Regions from separate parts of the Homo sapiens genome. Here region 1 is linked to region 2. The links are contacts of gene promoters, found by promoter capture Hi-C in human tissues and cell types (Jung and others, 2019). All regions are on one chromosome and are shown on one strand. Each heading gives the region's core, a stretch centred on a gene start or on the middle of the fragment in contact. The rest is flanking DNA. Distances are from core to core; before and after follow the strand shown. Region 1 overlaps MCC (MCC regulator of Wnt signaling pathway). Region 2 holds the start of MCC (MCC regulator of Wnt signaling pathway).

What was found. The method cuts DNA at HindIII sites, captures the fragments that hold promoters and counts their contacts. A contact is called where the count stands out against the background at its distance.
Region 1: a contact is called between a fragment that was not itself captured here and the fragment with the promoter of MCC in region 2, in 1 of the 25 tissues and cell types used here (mesenchymal stem cells).

Annotation. Positions count from the first base shown.
Region 1 is chr5:113,170,899-113,176,104 of GRCh38, reverse strand. The region is part of intron 3 of MCC (MCC regulator of Wnt signaling pathway); the gene reads left to right. Among named protein-coding and RNA genes, the nearest start is that of DCP2, 200 kb to the right of the region's middle. The HindIII fragment of the contact is 4,489 bases long and covers 1,318-5,206 here.
Region 2 is chr5:113,486,796-113,491,981 of GRCh38, reverse strand. It overlaps MCC (MCC regulator of Wnt signaling pathway), which reads left to right and starts at 3,529. Exons shown (of 19, transcript NM_001085377.2): 1 at 3,529-3,737. The coding sequence starts at 3,568. RefSeq lists an enhancer at 3,336-3,630. The HindIII fragment of the contact is 5,374 bases long and covers 472-5,186 here.

The DNA.
Region 1 (5,206 bases), core at 2,313-4,812, 320 kb after region 2:
AAATAGAATTAGCTCCTGAATTTTCAAATGTATACTTAAACTTAACATTTTTCTTAATGACAAAATCAGCTCCTTGAAAATCAGCCTAGGATATGCCTATCCAGACTTGAGAGAAAGTGTTTTTTCCCTGCTGGTTGGTACAGTACATAGGGGGTAGGATGCAGAAAAGAAGGGAATATTTAAGGCAGTAGTTTTCAAACTTTTTTTTTTTAATCTAGATCTATGCTGATCACAACACACTAAATTTGTCTCCAGACTCATTTATGGATCATGACCCACATGTTGAAAAATATTCATGAAAAGTACTCTAGGGATGATTGGGGATGACTATATCTCTTCCTTAAAATTGAATGTATTTTAGAGTAGATTATAAGGAATATTATGTGGTTGCTATTTAATCCCCTGGGGGTACACCAAAACAATATTTACAATCTAATACAAATTTCATACGACCTCCTAGATAGGTTCCTGAGAAAGTCAAACAAGGCTTTCAAAAGTGAAATACATTGCAGTATCCCTAGCATCATATCTATTTATCTGTCACTACTCCCCGTCCAGTTTGAGTGGCTAATTGAACACTAACTACAGTGATCAAATTTGCATTTTCCCTGTCAAATGTGCCACTCTGTGAATAGCTAAATTAACTTAGTCTTCCTGGAATATACCCAAATGTTGAGAACCATCTAGGACCTTTCAAAACCATTTGGTCTGTTCTGTCTTAAGATAAGCAGAATAAATACGTCCCTGAAATCAAAGGAAAACTAATTGTAGTACCTCTTTCCAGCTTTAAGTCATCAAAGTTTGACCATCTCAAGTATGTTCTAATGGGGTTCATTATTTTGTTTGTTCTACATCTGAGATACTTTTACATTTGCATTGTTAATATCCATTTTTCAAAATTTATTGACATGTCTATTTATTTTCAAGAATAGTAACTTATTAGCCTCTCCTTTCAAAGCACAAAAGCTACACATGGCCACCAGAACAAGTCAAACAACACAGAAGTATATCACGGAAGAGCTAACTCAGGCCCCTTCTCCTCTTAAATTTCTGTCTTCCTCCTTAACCAGCATTAACAATTTGGTGTTTATTCTTCAATACCCATCTAAGCTCATATAAAATACACAAGTATTTATAAATGTGGTGAACATTTTCTCATAAAAATGAGATCACACTATGTTAATTCTCTTCTTAACATTTAAAAAAAAAATCTGTCATCTGGGCATATTGGCTCACTCCTGTAATCCCAGCACTTTGGGAGGACAAGGCAGGAGGATCGTCTGAGCCCAGGAGTTTGAGACCAGCCTGGACAACATAGGGAGACCCTCATCTCTACAAAAACTACAAAACTCACACCTGTAGTCCCAGATGCTTGCTTGGGAGGTTGAGTTAGTATTGCTTGAGCCTGGGAGTTTGAAGCTGCAGTGAGCTGTGATTGGACCATTGGACTCTAACCTGGATGACAGAGAAACACCCTCAAAAAAAAAAAAAGTCTTAAGAAAAAAAATATTTTTTAACTATATGTCGTGGGTTTTTTCTCCAAGGTCTTCAATATACCATTCTTTTTTACAGCTGCAAAGTATGGATATGTCAGTGTATTTATTTACTCTCCTGTAGATGGGCATTAATGTGTTCGTTTAGTTTTTGTTATTATACTGCTATAATAAATATCTTTGTAAATATATCTTAAAACTAGTAAATCATTAGATCAAAAGAGGTGCTCCTTAGGTGCCAAACAGTGCAGGTGATCCATACCAGCAGTGTAGGTACGATTCACAATGACTCCATCCAGCCTCCACCAGTGAATTGGTTTTTGTTAGCTGAGTCCCTTTACCAAGGAGCCAGGAAGAAGACAGGTTGGGAACATTGATTCAGGTCTTTTTTACCTAGGATATTTCTGTGTCTACCCACCCCTACCTTGGATCTTTGCTATCTCAATGTCCTAAATCTCTCTTAGCATTGGGTCTAGGACTTTTTAAAGCAGTGTTCTGACTTCTTTACTTCACCATGGCAGTGATATACCTCATTCTAGACACATTTCTGTAGTTCTCAAGCATGAGTTCCAGTTCTGTTGATTTTGGTTCATCTTAATCTACCCAGTGTTACCCTCCATGTTCATTTCCCCTTTGTGTTGCTGTTGCAGTAATGTAGAAAGGTCTCTGTCTTTGGAATTGGTTATGCTGTTAGAGTGGTGTGGTGGGCTGTAAATCCCTGCACTTAGACCTTTGCTGAGTTACACACACCAAGTGCATTCAGGGTTATGGTGCTGTTTTAGCTAATTGGGGTTTGAAATACTAAATAAGATGTTAAAGACAAATGTTCTAGGTCACTTTGATTTCATTCATTCTAGTACACTGTACTAGCTACTAGGAATAGAATATACTGAGAAAACAGAAATAAAGTTTGTCCTCAAGGAATTTATGTCTAGGTTAAAGAGAGCCTCTGCAAAGAAAAATACAATTTGATAAATGGAGTGCTCATGTTATTAGATGGGATTCAGTCATGCACATGATTACACTGATTGGGGGAGAATAGAAGTTTAGTGGTGTTGTGATCCAGAGCCTCATGGGATTTCAAAACAAATCTTTACAGTGACCTTATATTTATCAGGAAGAATAAACAAATAGCTAAAATATTATTTTTAATAAAACAAAGGGGGAGATATTACACTATGCAACATTAAACATAATATTGTCATTTAGAGTAACATAAAGATGTAGCTATAATTATTCAGTAGTAATAGGACAAACAATAAATGAAAAGTACAAAGTTGATTTCTAATTCATGTATGCCATGAAATTCCAGATGAATAAAAGGTTTAAAAAATGACCACATAAAAGAAAACCACACTGAAGAAAATGTTGGTAGCTATGGAATCTGAGTGGGGTGGAGGATGTCTTTCTAAACAAAAATCAGAGAGAGGATCTGTTAAGGAAAAGGTTTATGGAAGCTACATAAAAATATGAAACATACAGATGTGATAAAATGCTATATAAATTAAAAGACGAACAGTTCACTGGGAAAGAGTATTTGCAGTGTATCTGGTGAAAAGTTAATATCTGTTATATACATCAAACTCTAAAAAATCATCCTATCAAAACAGGCAAAGAACATAAACAGGCAATTAAAAAACAAATTCATGTGTCCAGTAGATTTACGACAAAAAGTTTATCCTGAAATAATCAAGAAAATGAAGACTATTTTGGAATCAAATTGGCAAAAAAAAAATATGTGATATATCTACACATGTTAGGAGTAAAGTGAAATAGATACAGCTGGGAGAAATATATATTGCAATAGCTTTCGGTAGAAGGCAATTTCACAGTCAGAAGCCTTGGCCAGATAATTAACTCTATTTCCACGAATTTGTTCTAAGGTTCTTCATTGTAGCAATATACAACAAGGAAAATTGGTTACACATTCTATAATTGGCTGTTGGCTAAGTTATGGTACGCCCAGCACATAGGTAATTGTGTTAAGATGGACAGATGGCCATGGGTGGAGTCTTTCTCGTCACCTGATTTGTTCTGTGTTATGTCAAAGTGTGTAAGAGGTGGGGAAAGAACATTTCACATTTGCCTCCCCAAAGCCTTTTTAGTCAAACGAGGTTACTTAAAAGAAGAGGATGTGCATGGCAGAGTAGAGTTTTCAGCTGTAAAGCTATAGGAAATAGCAACTTGAGGCTGACCAAGTACAGTGAGAAGGGAAAATGAAGCTTGTTCTCTATGCAAATGAAGTGCTAAAGCAGCTGAATAGTTGTTCTAACCTCCAAAATTTTGCCTAGGCTGTTAAATAACCTTAAAGAGGTGAGAGTTTGATGCCTGAGACCCTTTTTTGAGTTGTTTTGTGTTCAGACAGACAAAAACATTGCTGTCACCTCTGAATCCTGTCTTAAGTGATCCAGTGAGACTTGATCAATATTAAGTCAGGTGCCTGGATTGTGTGAGCTGAACTGTGTCTATTGGGTATGAACTGTCCATTGGTATGTGTCTCTTTTCTCTTCCACTGCTACATTTGGAGAAAAGGGTCCTACCTGTTCTCATATAGAATCCTTCCCCTACATAACAGTTCTTTTCCCCCTCAGTGCTCCCATAGTACCTGAAGTCAGTCAACATTTGGATAGCTTTCCATTTTACTTTTTCTTGGTCAAAACATGGCACTGATGGTTTGCTAAGAACCATGGGAGATGGATCATGAGGGTGAGAAGGGAGAGCCTTCCTTATGTAGGGGCTCATGTAGTAGGGTCAGTTACTGATGAGTTCCAGGACTTGCTGGTGACAAGCAGATATCACTGAAGCTCTTCGTAGCTAGAAACCTCACAGATTCTGGAGAATTCCCTTGCCACAGCTGCTTCCGTTCTTGGAGGCTGCCCGGTAACCACCTGTGAAATGATACAGGCCACAGAGCCACCAATTAGATGTTCTGGGTTAAAGAGGTTTCCACTTTCCAGGGCCAGGCGCGGTGGCTCATGCCCCTAATCTCAGCATTTCAGAAGGCCAAGATGGGCTGATCACTTGAGGCCAGGAGTTCAAGACCAGCCTGGGCAACATGGTGAAACCCTGTCTCTATTAAAAATACAAAAATGAGCCAGGTGTAATAGTGCATGCCTGTAGTCCTAGCTACTCAGGAGGCTGAGGCACCAGAATAGCTTGAACCCAGGAGACAGAGTTCGCAGTTAGCCGAGTCGTGGCACTACACTCTAGCCTAGGCAACAGAGTGACACTCTGTCTCAAAAATTAAAAAATAAGAGGTTTCCGCCTTCTGCTTGTCTCTGTGCATTTTTGCCCTTGTTAGGTAATTGCCCGACTGAAGCTTAATACATTTTGGGGCAGAGATGTAAACTCATAAGTACCCAAGTGATGAAACAGCTCTATTTTCTATGCTTCCTCCTTTTGTCTTTAGGTTCAAGAGAATGGCTGCCTGTCTGATGGGAAATTATCTTGCACCATGCTGTGATAGCACTCTGCTAAACTTGACTCAGGAGCTTTCTTGTGGATGTAGGCAGTTGTGATCAAATTTTTGTGTGGAGGGCAGATATCTGAGTGAACTGCCAGGACATGGTCACATGCCTTTGACAAACAGAAATGGTTCAGGAGAGCCACTGAAGCCAAAGCTTTAGGGACGCATGTACTCGGTGCTTCCACAGAGTCTCAGTTCTGGATGCAGAACGCCCAGTGTGGGAGCCAAACACCCACTCTTCAGCTTA
Region 2 (5,186 bases), core at 2,280-4,779:
CGCCCGGCTAATTTTTTGTATTTTTAGTAGATACGGGGTTTCACCGTTTTAGCCGGGATGGTCTCGATCTCCTGACCTCGTGATCCGCCCGCCTCGGCCTCCCAAAGTGCTGGGATTACAGGCGTGAGCCACCGCGCCCGGCCGAATAATCTTTTTTGACTCCACATGCTGCCTCTTGGACACACTAGAGCAACAGTTGGGCCCACAAGGCCTTAGACAGCCCCACGTCTATGGCTTTGCTGGGTACAGCCCATACAGCTGCCCATACAGGTTGGAGCCTGGTGCCTGAAGCTTTCTCAAGTAGATGTTGCATGCTGTTGGTGACTCCACAGTTCTGGGGTTCTGGTAGTGGCCCTGTTCCCACAGCTCCACTAGGCATTGCTCTGTTGGAAACTCTCTGCAGCAGCTCTGACCCTACAATTCTGCTTAACATTGCCTTAGTTGGAGCTCTCTGAAGTGCTCTGCCCTTGTTACAAGCCTTTGCCTGGACCCAGGCTTTCAGCAAAAATCCTTTGACATCTAGGTGGAGACCCCACATCTCCACAGCTCTCGCTTTCTGCAAACCTGAAGAATTATAATGGCATCATATGGATGCCATTAAGGCCTATGGTTCTCATCTTCTTGAGTGACAGGTCAATTCACACCTAAAGCTTCTTGAGCCACAGCTGGCATGTCCAAAAAGCACTGTACCAGAATTTGGGAAGTAAAGACCTGAGAGAGACCTTGGCAGCAAGCCCATGAAAGGTGCCTCATGTCTGTCTCCTGAAACCATTCTGTCCTCCTGCCTCTGGGTCTGTGATGAGAGGAACAACTCAAAGTTCTCTGAAATGCCATCGAGGTCTTTCCTTCTCGTAATGATACTTTCTTCCTTTACTAATCTCTGGAACAAAAGGTTGCTGGGCTACACCCTTGGTTTCCTCTCCCAAACACACCTTTTCACTCTTCACATGGCCAGGCTGAGAGTTTTCCAAATCTTTCCACTTTGCTTCTCTTATGATTGTAAATTCCACCTTTAAAGTTTTTTTCCCCCTCTCACAGCTTGATGTAAGTGGTTAAAAGTAGCCATGCTGCAGCCTGAATGCTTTACTGCTTAGATATTTCTTTGGCCAGATACCCCAGTTTCTCTCTCTCAAGTTCAGCCTTCCAGAAAGCCCTCAGGCATAGAACAGTTCAGCTAAGTTCTTTGCCAATTTATAACAAGGATGGTCTTTACTCCATTTTCTTGTACCTTGTTCCTCAGTTCCATCTGAGACCTTGTCAGAATGGCCTTTACTGTCCATAGTTCCATCAGCATTCTGATTATGACCATTTAACCAATTTCTAAGGAGTTCCAAACTTTCCCTGTTCTTCCTGTCTTCTCAGCCCTCACTAGAACCTAGGCTTTTTCTAGACTGCTGCTTCATTCTTGTAGCCTCTGCTCATTATCCAGTTTCAAAGCTGCTTCTCCATTTTCAGGTATTCGTTTTCGTTAACACCCCACTCCCGGTACTAATTTCTGGTCTTGTCAATTTTCTGTTGCTTAGAACAGACTACCTGAAACTAGGGTGATTTATAAAGAAATGAATTTATTTCTTACAGTTCTGGAGAATGAAAAGTCCAAGGTCAATGGGCCACCCTGCTGGTGGGGACTCTGTGCAGAGTCCCAAAACAGTGCAGGGCATCACATGGCAAGGGGGCTGAGCCTGCTAACTCAGGTCTCTCCTTCTCTTCTTATAAAGTCACTAGTCCCACTCCCATGATAACCCATTAACTCATTAACTCATGAATCTATGATTTTAGTGCCCTGAAATACTGGGAACTTAGAGAATAATAAAGAAGTAAAGTAGGAATAGGTAGATGGGGTGGAGAGGAGGAGAAAGAGAGCAGAGATTCCTTCCTTCTGACCTAGCAGACATTCCCAAGACATATGGACTTGTTCCAGTTATATATTGCTGCATAACAAATCACCTCAAAACTTAATGGCTTAAAACAACAATTTTTAATTATTATCTTCACAGCTCTGGGGGTTGGTTAGCCAGTTTTGCTCAGGGTCTCCAATGCAGTTGCAGCATCTAGAGCTAGCATCATCTCTCACTCATGTCTGGCACCTAGTCTGGGAAGATTCTAAGATCCAGGGCTAGAACAGCTGTAGCTCTTTGGTCATCTCCTTTTTTCTTTACATGGTCTTTCTGCATGGTTTCTCCAGCTTCAGGGTAGCCAAACTTCTTTTCAGGCAGCTCAAGGCTTCAAAGGTAAGTGTCCCAAGGGAGAGAGCCAAGTGCAATCTGCATTGCCTTTTCTAACCTAGTCTCAGAAGTCAAGGCAGTCACAAGTCCAATCCAGGTTTAGGGGAAGCAACAGACTCCACCTCTTGATGAGGGGTGCACCAAAGAATCTGTGGACATATTTTAAAACCACCAGAGAACTTCACACGCCTCTCTGGCAGAAAATCCAGGACAGAATAATGAGTCATTCACGAAACCACAAATTGCTTCACTGTGGTTTCCCTTTGGCTATGGGGGAATAGTGCAGTGTTTAAAGGCTCCTGCTCTGGAGTTAGGCTGCCCGGGCTTGCCTCTGCCCTAACACTTACTAAACCTGGAACCTTGAGCAGGTCTTGGTACCTCAGTTTTCTTACCTGTAAATTGGGAACAATGAGAGCTAACAGTTGTTGAGCACTTACTAGGTGTCAGACATTGTCCTAACTGCATTATGTCTGCTCTCCTTTTATATGTAAGATAACTCTATGAGGTACTTATCTATTAATACTTCCTAAGTCGTAGGATTGATAATAAAAGAGGCATCTTCCAGGTCTGTAGTGTGGATCAAATGAGACCATCTATTATGTTCGCTCTTGGCATTATTAAAGCTGTTGGGGGAAATTCTAGTGATGCCTGGCCAGTAGAGTGAGCCGTTTCCAGAAATTGACCCAACGTACACAATGCCACACAGCGTGCAGACTCTTCCCAGTACAGAGTGGGAGCCAAGATGAGGGCTGCGAGGGCCAGGTTTCTTGACAGGTGTCAAAATTTCATAAAAAGGCCAGTCATTCCGGTTCTCATTGGTGGCTATGGGTACAGAACCCGGAACAATCCTGGAGAGTGGGATTACAAGCACCGTTTTGAGTTTGCAGAAGGAGAGTGTTTATATAGCTTCTCTGGAAAAGGAAGCCATGACTCCGGGCGGTCGGAGAAGGTCTGCCGGGAGTACACCTGCCCTCTGCCTGAAGCGTCCCCAAGTGTCCCGGGCCCGCGTCGTTGCCGGATGCACAATGCTGACACCCTTCCCGGGGGCTTCCAGTGTATTCTGCCTCCTCTTGTGTTCCCGTTGCCACCCTTAGCTCCCTGACTCTTCCAGCCACCTTCCCCTCCTCCCTCTTCCCTGAGGTGCCTCCTCGGGCGATTCCAGAGCGCCCATCTTCCCAGTCCGGGCAAAACCCGGAGAGGTGGAATCCCTCGCCCGGAGCGCCCCGGCGGCCACTGGGCATGCTCCGTTGTCAGGCAAGTTCGGGGCTGCAGGCAGCTTGCGCGCCGCGCGGATTCCAGCTGCGGTCGCGCGTACTCCTCCTCCCAAGTAGGGAGCGGGCGCATGATGGCGGCCGCGGCGGCAGCGGCTGCGGGGAGCTCCAGCAGCGGCGGCGGCGGCGGCGGCAGCGGCAGCAGCAGCAGCAGCAGCGACACGTCCAGCACCGGCGAGGAGGAGAGGATGCGGCGCCTCTTCCAGACGTGCGACGGCGACGGGGACGGATACATCAGCAGGTACGCGGGGAGGTACGAGGAAACCGACAGGAGCGAGATCAGTCCCTCCGCGCGCCCTTGACCCCTGCTCTGCCCCCTCGCCCCAACTTGCGGCAAGTTGCTCAGAAGCTCGCGGGAAAAGTTGGCCGCGACTCCGAGAGCGCGTAGCCGGCTCGGCCACGAAGGCCGAGGGGACTGCTCTGTTCGCCTTGCGGGGGTGCCAGTTGGTCCAACTTTTCCCAGCGCTGTCTTTGTCTAGGCGTTGGGAGACATCTCCTTAGGATGCGCACTCTTCCGGGGGCTTGGAGTGTTCTTCCCTGTGGGAAAAGGAGTTCTGGCCGCTTGTCCCAGGTAGGAGGGGCTGCCCCACAGCCTCGGGGTCCTGGGCATCAAGATGCCGCAGCACGGGGCAGCGATCTGCCCGGCGGCTTGGTGGACACCCCAGGGCCGCACCGGGAGGAGATGAGCTAAGCGACAGCCTCGGACAGGGAAATAACCTGTGAAGAAACTTTCTTGTGCCGCAGAACCCATGAATTCCAAACTTCAGAGCCCAAAGAATGGGTATCGTTTGCCACCCAGTATTGATTTAAACGCAGTAGCCTGAGAGGAACGAAGCGCTCAGGAGCAAACTAGGGCTAGACCCGACTCCTACCCGGCTCTGTGCGCTGACCAGGTGAGCTTCGGCGTGGCTCCGGGCGCCTCCGCGCCTCCACTCACAAACAAACTTTGGGGTGTTTGCTTCGGATCCCCCGCACTTCCTACAGAGGCGGTATTTAAGCTTCCTGCCTCCCGGCTTGGCCAAATAATTACTTCTGCCCAAATTTGTGTCACTTAGACTCTTGTGGTGAAGAAGGCAATCGCAACATTTTCTGGTATGCTTCTATTGAATGGTTGACACCGGCCATTGAAGACTTGGTATCCGTGGAAATTTGAATTGCCTTGGATGAAGGAGCAGCCTAAGTTGTGCATTACATGTTTCTTTAGTCTATGTCTTGGTGATGCTAAAGATCGTTTCTGAAAATCCGGGGCTGCTTCCTGATTGTCCCTGCCTACCTAAAAAAAAAAAAAAGAAAGCAAAGTGCGGAATTTTTCCCTTAAAATAAAAAAAATTATTTATTTGGGACTCAACGCAATTTTGATCATTCTTAGGTGAATTTTTATTACTTTGCTAAAGTTTTACTGAGAAACATTAGGAAGATATCAGAAAACTTGATGGAGTAATTCTGTTCGGAAATGAAAATAATATGTAATTCTGATTGACTCCATGCAAATTTCTATCTGGAAGTCTCGTTATTTTGGTTCTGGGAGTAAAAGAAATTTCATTATATAGTTTTCCTTTTTGTTGTTTTCCTACTTGAAAGGTTATTATCTCATTTGCAATAATAAAGGCAAACTCCAACTTTGGATACAATTTTTTTTTTTTTTAGACAGAATCTCGCTCTATCACCCAGGCTGGAGTACAGTGGCGTG